Linked DNA regions of Homo sapiens: region 2 is linked to region 1. Evidence: promoter capture Hi-C in 16 types of primary human blood cells and fetal thymus (Javierre and others, 2016). All regions are on one chromosome and are shown on one strand. Each heading gives the region's core, a stretch centred on a gene start or on the middle of the fragment in contact. The rest is flanking DNA. Distances are from core to core; before and after follow the strand shown. Region 1 holds the start of TRUB1 (TruB pseudouridine synthase family member 1). Region 2 overlaps ABLIM1 (actin binding LIM protein 1).

Region 1 (5,251 bases), core at 1,075-3,574:
TGCAAAGAAAGACAAGGAATGGTATTAGAGGACACAACCACTGATCATGGTTGTCAAACATGGCATTAGAATGTAGGTATCTTTAAGAACCTTCCCAAGGCCGGGAGTGGTGGCTCATGCCTGTAATCCCAGCATTTTGGGAGGCTGAGGCGGGCAGATCACCTGAGGTCGGGAGTTCGAGCCCAGCCTGACCAACATGGAGAAACCCCGTCTCTACCAAAAATACAAAATTAGCTGGGCATGGTGGTGCATGCCTGTAATCCCAGCTACTTGGGAGGCTGAGGCAGGAGAATCACTTGAACCCAGGAGGGGAAGGTTGCAGTGAGCCGAGATCTTGCCATTGCACTCCAGCCTGGGCAACAACAGCGAAACTCCATCTCAAAAACAAAAACAAAAACAAAAACTTCCCAAGCAATTCTGACAGCCAATTACAATGACATTTGGAAAGCCCTAGCCTAACTAACATAAATACAAAATAGGCCAATCACAAGCAATATAGAAATCGAGGATAATGAGAATGTCTCTAGCTAAAGGTTCTAGCCTAGCAAGAGCCTTGAAACATTTTAACCAAGATTCAACAAGAAACTTCAGTTCTTAGAGGCAGATTAGCCAGAAGGCCAGAATATGGCTTTGTCAGAAACTTGTCTGAAAGAATGGTAATCATTACCTTAAGGATAAAAAAAAAAAAAAAAGAAAAGAAACCCAGAGTTTAGCTAACAAATCAGGAAAGCAGCAGTTCTATGAAGGAAAACTAAAAAACTATGATGATACCACAATACATATCCTTGATGCAATTCCTCACTTTGACGTCCTCTGTATGACCCATACTTTCAGGCAACAAAGCAAAACTTTAATAAAAGAATAAGTAGTCGTGATACTGGAATTAAACATCTGCAGGAGTGTACCTATTTGCCCATAAACACTTAAATCTGTACTGTCAGTTATAATTCCCATCAGAATAATTTGTTTTTGCATTTTTTTAAAGTGTAAAGTTTTCCATGGGACACTAAACAATGTAAGAAAGTCCCTGTTACTGGTTTAATGGCGAGACAGAATACGGCCAAACTCTGGAGGGCCTTGAATAACCTAACTAACTAGTTTTACCACCACAAGGTGCAGAAATTACTAGGCTATCAGCTCAGTTAAGGTAAGAGAGTTATCTTTCATCTTCAAGTCTCTATAGGCTAGCACAGACCTGGCTTATTGTATATGTCCAATGAACTTAAGGATCCTGGATGCTTTATGTGTGAAATCATCCGAGCTGATTAACGGGGTGATTCTCTAGGCTTTTCTACTATTTTCCCAGTGTACGTGAATAAACGAATCAATAAAATGAACACTCTCAGCTTAGTGGCCAAGTTATATTTAGTGTTCCTCAAATGTGGTCCATAAACTACTTACACTGGAATCACCTGGAGCAACTATTTAGAATTGCAGTTTCCTAAAAATACCCCGAACTCTCCGAATCACAATCTCGGACAGGGCAGGGATTAGGAATCTGTATTTGTACAAGAGACTCTAAGTAATTGTTAGGCCCATTAAAATGTGAAAACGACTATATTAAGTCTTGGTTAACGAAGTATATCTGCATTTCCAATACATTTTGAGGAATGCAACTTTAGGGGTGCAGAACCAGTACTTCCTTTTGGGGTTCATCCACATGAACCCAACAAAAGCCTCCTGAGGGATCGATCAGATTACAGAAAACAGGTCTGCACGCCCAAGGGCAGGGTTTTATTGTGTAAGTACGGGATTTTTTTCCTCCCGTTGAGAACTACAACTGCCAAGTAGGCTACAAGAGTTCGTGCCAGGGCAAGTCCAAGCCCGAGATGCCCGAGATTCCTGTCCAGAGCTAATTCAATGGTCAGTCTCCCTTTCCCCTCCTTTTGTCTCTTGAATCACGAGCGTCGCAAAAAGCCTAATGTGCTTCCCCTCTCGCAGCGACCGCCTCAGCCTGGTCCCCACCCGGGCTGCAGTACCTGCCAGCAGCTTCTCCTTCAACCGATTCAGCAGCTCGGCTGAAGTGGGCCCTTTGGGCTTGTGCACGGCGAACACGCCGCTCAAGGACAGCAGCTTGGTAGCCAAAGCGGCCTTGGAGACCCTGGCTTCGGATCCGGTCCTGGCCGCGGCCGCAACCACCGCGGCTGCAGCCCTTGCTGACGGGGTCGCAGCCATTGCTGCGACCGTTCCTGCAGTTTCAAGGACAGGGGATGTGTCTGTTTTCAAAGACGGCGAAGACACCACCGCCGCCTCAGAAGCGGCCATACTTTTGTAGCCCAGACCTGTTTCATCGTGGAGGTGCACGCTGATGATGCAACAAGAGTGCGCCTGACAGGACCCTCTTCCTCATACCGCGAAGCTGCGCAGAACGGAGAGGTCGCACGGACTTGTGGGAATTGTAGTCCATGGCCTTCCCATATAGACCAAGAGCTTGCTGTGCCCTTGGACTTTAAATAGAAAATTTTAAATGTTGACTTTTCCTGAGGCTTGTGAAGATCCATGGCTTCCTGGGCTCACTGCTTCATTGATTGTATTGTGCTCTTACATTCAGGTTCAGAATTAGAAGACATCCAAATGTGAGCTCTATTAGAGCAAGGAACTTATGTACCACGTTAACTGAGACATTCCCAAATGCCTCACATGTTGTAGGCACTTAAATAAATATTTGAAAACGTATAAATAAGTATGAATTCTTCAAATTCCCCGAAGAAACCAAGCCAATGGTAAATCACTTGTGCTTATTTTGATGCTCTTCATGCACTCCTGTTCACCCTCCCCAAACCCCCACTGACCCCACTACAATTTTTAATAATTCTGATTTTGAATATCAGCTCTTCTGTGGGTTGAATTCCTTAGTACACTTTGTTTAGATATCAAAAGGTATTCTTGCAATTCATAAACTTTAAACCACTTCCCATTTGAGACCTTCTCCCTAAAAGTTATTCACTCCCTAACAAGATTGAGGAATATTGTTTTGATTCCAGCACAAGGCAGAGTGGAGAAAAATTACTTCTGCACCAGAAACATTAAATGCTATCATAACTATTGTGAGACAGATAAAGTTTGCCCTCATTGTTTTTTAGGTTTCTTTACAACCACTCTTTGTCCTCATCATACTCTTGGACTTTAATATCTAGTATTTTAGTGATGCCCCTTAGCTGCTCACAATCACCAGTTATGGGGTCCCATTTGAACTTGCACCCATTCGTGCAACAGACACATGGCAGAACAATTTATTAAAAGGAAAAAAAAATCTTTGAGGGAGTTTTTTCAGGGTGGAAAGCTGAAACTCCTAGAAGGAAGTCACTTACTCTTGTGGTCTATTATAAAAGCCTAAGCTAACTGAAAAGATTGGCATATCACAGGATTAGTGGACACCTGGCCCTGCTTCAAGATGTTAATTTTTCCACAAAGATGTTGTGACTTCAGAAGGGATGACTGCACCCAAAGGAGCATGGTGTCCATTAGCCTCAGGAAAGAGTTCTCTATTCTTGTGCCATGGAAGCAGAGAGCCAGGGACTTGCAGGGAAGGTTGCAAGGCTTGATCAATGATGACTTGGATGACTCCAAGGCACTTGGAGATTAGAGGCCTTTTCCCAATTGTCCGGACATCAGCAAGCCTCCCTATTTCTCTTGTGGCTCTGGGGGTGAGGGATGCAGAGGGAGAACAGAACTAGGGGTAACATATGATGCTTATATTTGAATTTTCCATCAGCCCAGTGTAGGACCAGAGTTAATCTGATTTAAAGAAAATGAAGAAATGTATATTTCTTGCATGTTTGATTTCTGGGATGCTAGGACACAACAAAATTAATGCTACTCTGCTATTATATCGGCATTCTTGGGATCAGAAGCACCAAGCTTTGTTTTTCTAAGGTAATCAACATCTCCCACATTGGGCAGGCCTTGAATTCACAGGTTTTTTTTGCTCCAATACATGTATGAGTTTGGGCTCTTTGGTCAACAGAAAACTGATTCATACCAGCTTGGGGGCACAGGGGGAGAAGATTTATCAGAAATACACTGACACACTATTCAGAACCTAGAAAGTTCTCTGTCTCTAGCTGCACATCCTTCTTTTATGCTACTCACTTGTGTCTTTTTTTTTTTTTTTTTTTTTTTTGAGACAGAGTTTCACTCTTGTTGCCCAGGCTGGAGTGCAGTGGCACAATCTCAGCTCACTGCAACCTCCGCCTCCCGGGTTCAAATGATTCTCCTGCCTCAGACTCCTGAGTAGGTGGGATTACAGGCATGTGGCACCATGCCCAGCTAATTTTGTATTTTTAGTAGGGACGGGGTTTCTCCATGTTGGTCAGGCTGGTCATGAACTCCCAACCTCAGGTGATCCGCCTGCCTCGGCCTCCCAAAGTGCTGGGATTACAGGCACGAGCCATCACGCCTGGCCCACTTGTGTCTTTATTCCTCTTTCCTGTTTCTAACAGGCCTTTTATTCTAACTCTTCATTCCACATCCTTGTTTTAAACCATCCTATTTTGATCCAATTCCAAAAATCTTCTGGATGAAGTCACTCCTGACCACCTACAGAACATAATACCTCCCTCTTTCTATCCCTCTACCATGGCACTTTCCTAGCTAACTTTCTGGCTTTATTTTTTTCCATGGCACATCTCACCTGACATACCATGAAAATGATTCGGATGTTGGTTCCCTCCAAATCTCATGTTGAAACGTGATTCCCAGTGTTGGAGGTTGGGCCTGGTGGTAGGTGATTGGATCACAGGAGTGGACCCCTCATGAATGGTTTAGCTCCCAGTGTTGGAGGTTGGGCCTGGTGGTAGGTGATTGGATCACAGGAGTGGACCCCTCATGAATGGTTTAGCTCCCAGTGTTGGAGGTTGGGCCTGGTGGTAGGTGATTGGATCACAGGAGTGGACCCCTCGTGAATGGTTTAGCTCCCAGTGTTGGAGGTTGGGCCTGGTGGTAGGTGATTGGATCACAGGAGTGGACCCCTCGTGAATGGTTTAGCTCCCAGTGTTGGAGGTTGGGCCTGGTGGTAGGTGATTGGGTCACAGGAGTGGACCCCTCGTGAATGGTTTAGCTCCCAGTGTTGGAGGTTGGGCCTGGTGGTAGGTGATTGGGTCACAGGAGTGGACCCCTCGTGAATGGTTTAGCTCCCAGTGTTGGAGGTTGGGCCTGGTGGTAGGTGATTGGGTCACAGGAGTGGACCCCTCGTGAATGGTTTAGCTCCCAGTGTTGGAGGTTGGGCCTGGTGGTAGGTGATTGGGTCACA
Region 2 (5,716 bases), core at 1-2,500, 410 kb after region 1:
AAGCCTAAGAATCTCGTTTCAGTACAAGCTTATGCCTCAGGGACAATCACTGTCGGTTTCACATGCAGACAATAGTGAGTGAATGCAAAGAAATGGTACTTTCCTACCTGCATTTAAAAAAAGAAAGAAAGTAAATCTACTCCCCCTCCTTTTTTGGGAACATGGACTGGCCCATTGTGGTTGCTGGTGTGTTGAACTAGTAAGTAAAGCGAGGAGAGGAGGCGTGAGAGAGCGTGCCTGCCCGCCGCACACGGGGCTGGTTTCCGGAGTGCGTCTCTAGAGGGATGCACGTTGCCTTAGCCGAGCTTCGGAGAGAAGCCTGATATGTAACCCAGGCAGGTGGGAGCCTCAGTCTGTCGGGCTGAGGTCTGGCATCTACAAAGCCTCTTGGCCGTGTTCTGAACTTGAAGCCTGGAGGAGTTCTCTGCTCAGCACAGCCAAGGAACAGAATTAGAAGAAAAGGAACCCTGGCCTGAGGTAAAGCGGACATTGCACAAGGTGACCTATGTCCTTTGCTTTGCGTGGCAGATGTGAGATTTCTGGCTTCCTTCGTGAGGTCGGAGGCCGCTCGGATCCTCCAAATGTGGTGGCTGGATGCTGGCGACAGAAGTCACTTTTATTGCCCTGACATACATTTATGTAAACTTTTTGTTTTCCTGATGATACAAAAGAAACGACAGGAGCTTTTGTTCATCGATACAGAACTAGACTGAAGGGCAGGAAAGGCTGGTTATTTATTTCACTGAGAAGTGTAGTGCGTTGACCTTTTAAACAAGGCTTATGTTTTTTTAGGCTGCTACCCGCAAGATTGAAAGGAGACTGTGGTTTTCAGACTTTGGGGTTGTTTTGTTTTGTCTGTGGTTTGTAGAGCTCTGTGAAATTTACATTTGAGTCCTGTTTGGGGGATTTGGTGGTGGAAGTGGCACGTGGGAATGAGTAGATTTAGCTATTACTGTAAATTATGAGATTTTTTTTTCTTTAAGAAATACCCAATAAATGAAAATAAGGAAACAAAATGTTTAGATGTTATTCATGTTTTATTGCGGCTCTAGGTTGAAAGAGCTTGACAATTGCCTCTCTTTCCACCTTTGATATGCAGTAAAAGAAATCTAGAGATTCTGGCCTTTATATTGAAAATAGTTTTCCTAAAAACCCAGTTATTAATCGAATCATACTGTAAAGACTTTTTTTGGGGGGAAAGTGTTTTAAAATGTGCTATACTAGCATGAAAGAAGAAATGGGACCAGAAAGTTATTTCATCTGTGAAAAAAATAGATTTATGATGTTGGAAAAGAAAAAAAGAAAACGTGAGTTTGGCCATAAGCCAGCAGGAGTGTGGTCGCTATAGCAGCTTCATTTGTCACTTAGCTGAGATTGGAGACTTAAAAGAAAACTGAGCCTGTTTTTCTCTCAGACAGCCTCATAAGGAATGTTAAGAGGATGTGAAGTTATTTAGATTACCAAAACAGGTTCTGACAAGTAAGTGAAAATAACTCATTAAAATATAATTGTTGCCATTCTATAAATGGATCAAAAGGCTTGTTGAGTCACTGCGTACTTATAGAATAGGTGAATTTGCCACGGCTCATTGGTATAAATTACTTTTGAGAAGGCTTTTTAAGACTAAGCGTGAGGCCTTGCCAAGCATCCCTTATAACACTTAGAATGTTTTGACCAATGTTTTCGAGGCGGTTGCCTAAGCATTTTCATGTGTCAGTGAGTCTAATCCTCGCATCAGTGGCTTATCCAGTAAGCTCAGGGAATATTATATCCTGACAACAGAAGCCTGCAGATTTTTCTCTTCAACTAAACAATAGCTCACCTAAAAGGACAGAAAGTGAACTACTCAGTTCTTGTAACCTGACTTTCTGGAGGGATGGTCATGATTTTGGCTCCTGTAGAACAGGGTTTCTCAACCTCAGCATTATTGACATTTTGGATGGGATTATAGTTTGTTGCAGGGGACTGTCTATGGGATGTCTAGTAGCATCCTTGATCTCTACACACCAGGCGACAGTAGCACTCCCTCCCCAGCTGTGAGAACCAGAGATATCTTCAGACACTGTTAAATATTCCCTGTGGGCAAAATGCCCCTGGTTGGGAATCACTGCTAGAGGGAAACCTGTCTTGGGGCCTACTGCTGCCAACGAGGGGGAAGGGTCTATGAGAGGAGGCTGGAGTCCCAGGGAGGCCTGGCGGGGTCCAAGGAACAGTGGCAGGACAGGTGTTTTTGCCTGACCATTTGGTTTTTATTTTGTTTGGGTTTTGTCTGAAATCACATCTTGGGAATGGGGTATCAGATTCAAGGACTTGCTGCGGATATACATTCTTCTGCCCCCTTTTCCTTCTGTGCCCTTGTGGGACTTATTTTATACAGTGCTATGATTGGTATAGTAGTCAAACTTCTTTCAATTGAATTCTAAAGTGCATTCTGGGGATATACTATTTTGTCTTTTTTTAAAAAGAAGCTTATACAGTGATCCATTTTATAAAGCAAATAGTTACCCATACTTTTCCCTTCTGTAAATATAGAGTTTTTTGTTGTTGTTGTTGTTTGTTTGTTTGTAATGTGGGTTTTTAGTAAATCTGGCCATGCCTGTTAGTTTTTTTTTCTTCTAGAATCTGCAAGTGAATGCTTTCATTTCTTTTTTCTTTTCGCCATCTGTACCAGTGGGTCTCAAACTGTTTTGATTTTTTTAGGAATTGGGCCTTGTTTTGTGAGTGCAATTGAAGAATCACAGCTTTTTTCCAATTTACAGATAACGATGAAGTCAATGGCTGGGATTTTTTCCGTTTAAAATTTTTCTTACACCTTTAGCATTAATGCTACTGCTTGTTTGCTCTCAAAGGTTTACAGATTACAAAATGCATGAAGCTGCGAGTGCTGCTTTTTCTTGGTGTTTCTCCAAGAATATAGTACATTGCACTGAGCACCGTGACTTCCAGGAGCTACCACCACCACCCAAACCAGATGAGATGTACCACTGCATAGTGCTTAGTGGTGCTTAGCATTGGCTGAACAGATAGGGAAACACCTTGACTTATTGAAGTCTATTCTTGGTGACAGACCTGGACTGGCCCATAATGTTATCAGAGAGCTGTGGTTTCTGCTTTTGATTGCAAAGCAAATCTTGCATTTCTCTCCACCTGGAGGTACCAATGTGACACACACCATGTGCTCTCTAAGTAACAGTTCTTCGTAATTAAAATTCACCCTCTCCCCCCATTCAGTAGACCAAAGATCCCTGAGTGCAGCAAATGTGAGCATTTTAGGTCTATTTGCCCCCAGGATATAGCACAGTGCCTGCTCATACTATTTGCTCAGTCATTGATGAACAGACAAATGAATGTCAATGATTTCTATGGAAAGACCACCCAGGAGCTTGGTCAGCAAGCCACATGTCTGCAGCCTGTGTCCATATTTCTGTAATTTTTTAAAGAGGACAAATCCAGTCACCATCTAAGCAGGTTTTAATGTCTGAGGGGCTACCAGAAAACTCTTTGAAGGATGCAGGAAGAGTGGGTCTGTGGGTTGTAGAATTTGGGCCTTCATAAGGCCCAGAAATTAAATTTCTGCTCTTATTATAAACCCCACAGGTTAATGCTTCTTCATGGTTTCAATAAGATAAAGAGCACACTAACCATAGGGTCTGACCCAAAGGCAAGGTATTTACCACCTCTTTAAGAAAACTCGCCAGTTGAAAGAGCTTATGATCAGAGGTGAAAAAACGGCCCTTGTTGATCTATGTGTCCTGTGGGGAGTCAGGTGGTGCTGCCCAGAGAACCTACCTGGTTCTCTGAACCAGGTTATCAGGGCAAGGGGGGTGCAGATGGGGCAGATGTCTTGAAATTGGAAGTTTCCAGACTGTGCAGAATGTAAAGATGCCGTAGTGAGAGACAGAGAAGCCAAAGATCCTCTCAATCTCTTGCTTTGGTTCACAAACCAACCCCAGCTCCATGGATTTTTTTGTTTTGTTTTGTTTTTTGAGATGGAGTCTTGCTCTGTCACCCAGGCTGGAGTGCAGTGGTGCAATCTTGGCTCACTGCAACCTCCACCTCCTGGGTTCAAGCGATTCTCCTGCCTCACCCTCCGAGTAACTGGGATTACAGGTGTGTGCCACCATGCCCGGCTAATTTTTTGTGTTTTTAGTAGAGATGGGGTTTCACCATGTTGGCTAGGCTGGTCTTCAACTCCTGACCTCAAGTGATCCACCCGCTTCAGCCTCCCAAAGTGCTGGGATTACAGGCGTGAGCCACCGCACCTGGCCTAGCTACATGCTTCTAAGCAGAGCCCTGGGAATGAGCAAGCGTGAGCCTTTCTTGTACCTTAAGCTGCAGAGGCTTAAGGTGCAGCCTTTGACGGGAGGGGACCTTCATCAAAGAGGAAACAAACCCTGCTGCTTTATTATTCGCCAAGCCTGGAATGTTTTTAGCAAATACGTGTTTGTGTCCTTCTCAGCATTGCTGGTTCACACTGAGGCCATTTGTTGCTCATAAACACTAGATGAAGCAAAAATACTTGTTTACACTTAAGACTGCTTTTATCTTTCCTTACTGCTGAATAGTAATTTTTTACTAGATTGTCTTGGTTCTGTGCAGCTGGTTCCTTATGTCTGTGCTCATATCCGTATACCTTGTCCAAATAAACATACTTGAAAACATAGAGAATTGTGTTTTGTGAAGTTTAGAACATCCTCTAACAGAGTTTAAGCTGAGCTTTCTGCTTTGTTTTGGCAACTTGTTTAGGATGCCAAATGTATCTGGTCTGGCAACAGATGAAAGAAGATGTTGGCCCTTATATAACGAAGTTTAGGGAATAAGTGGGGGGTGGGGTGGATTGCCAGGTTTCCTTTGTGGTTTGAAAAGAGTTCTAAAGCATGAGGAAAACATGTGTTCGACTGGGTTTTTGTTTTGCCTTTAAACCTTGGAATTTTGAAAATCTGTTGAAATATCTTCTCCTGGCTTATGCAGCCCTCTGAGATTAAGTTTCTGATTACCTACATCTTCCCTCCTCTTTCATTCCAGCCCTGCTAGCCTTCTTTCTGCCCCTCAAGCACAGACACTGTCCATCTCTGGGCTTTCACTGCTCCCTGAGCCTGGCACATTCTTCCTCCAGATCTTGGCTTCCTTCTCATTATTCAACCTGCCTCTTTTGACTTGGAGAGGTATCCTCTAATCACCTAGCTAAAGTTGCTTCCACCTGCCCAACCCCTAGGCCATCTTCTCTCCCCTGGTTCTGTTTTAGGTTCTTCATGGCACTGTTCCCCGACTATCTGGAATTCTTATCTGCTTGTATCCATGTCTAGTATCTGTCACTCATTGCAAGAATGTATGCTTATGACAGGTACTATCATATCCCCGAAACTAAAACATCATCTGATAGAAGGTTGGTGCCCAATAAGAGGATGAGTGGATGGATAGAAGGATGGATGAATGGGAGGGAAAAGGAGAGGGAAGGAAGGAAAGAAGGAGCGGGGAAAGGAGGGGGGTTGACTACCGAGTAAATTTCTACTCTCTTTTAAGTCTAAGAGCTTCTCTCCTGTGATTCCTCTTTGACTCCCCAAGACAGTAGCCTTGGAGAATTTTCTCCCCACACCCACCTCACTTTGTACATTACACTAACCATCTTATCCAGTTACAGTCACCTGTTTGCTAAGCTCTGCATACTAAGCTCTTGAGGACAGGAATGTGTAATAAAGGTGGTTATGGTTGTAAT

Evidence for each region. Contacts are between HindIII fragments. The CHiCAGO score rates a contact against its expected background, and 5 or more counts as called.
Region 2: a contact is called between a fragment that was not itself captured here and the fragment with the promoter of TRUB1 in region 1, in 4 of 17 cell types (naive CD8 T cells, total B cells, total CD8 T cells and 1 more). The highest score is 6.7, in naive CD8 T cells.

What each region holds. Positions count from the first base shown.
Region 1 is chr10:114,935,268-114,940,518 of GRCh38, reverse strand. TRUB1 (TruB pseudouridine synthase family member 1) reads right to left here and starts at 2,324. Exons shown (of 8, transcript NM_139169.5): 1 at 1,980-2,324. The coding sequence starts at 2,265. RefSeq lists an enhancer at 1,953-2,492. The HindIII fragment of the contact is 6,581 bases long and covers 1-3,863 here.
Region 2 is chr10:114,521,421-114,527,136 of GRCh38, reverse strand. All of the region lies in intron 6 of ABLIM1 (actin binding LIM protein 1), which reads left to right. Among named protein-coding and RNA genes, the nearest start is that of AFAP1L2, 120 kb to the right of the region's middle. RefSeq lists enhancers at 1-218, 389-508. The HindIII fragment of the contact is 2,440 bases long and covers 31-2,470 here.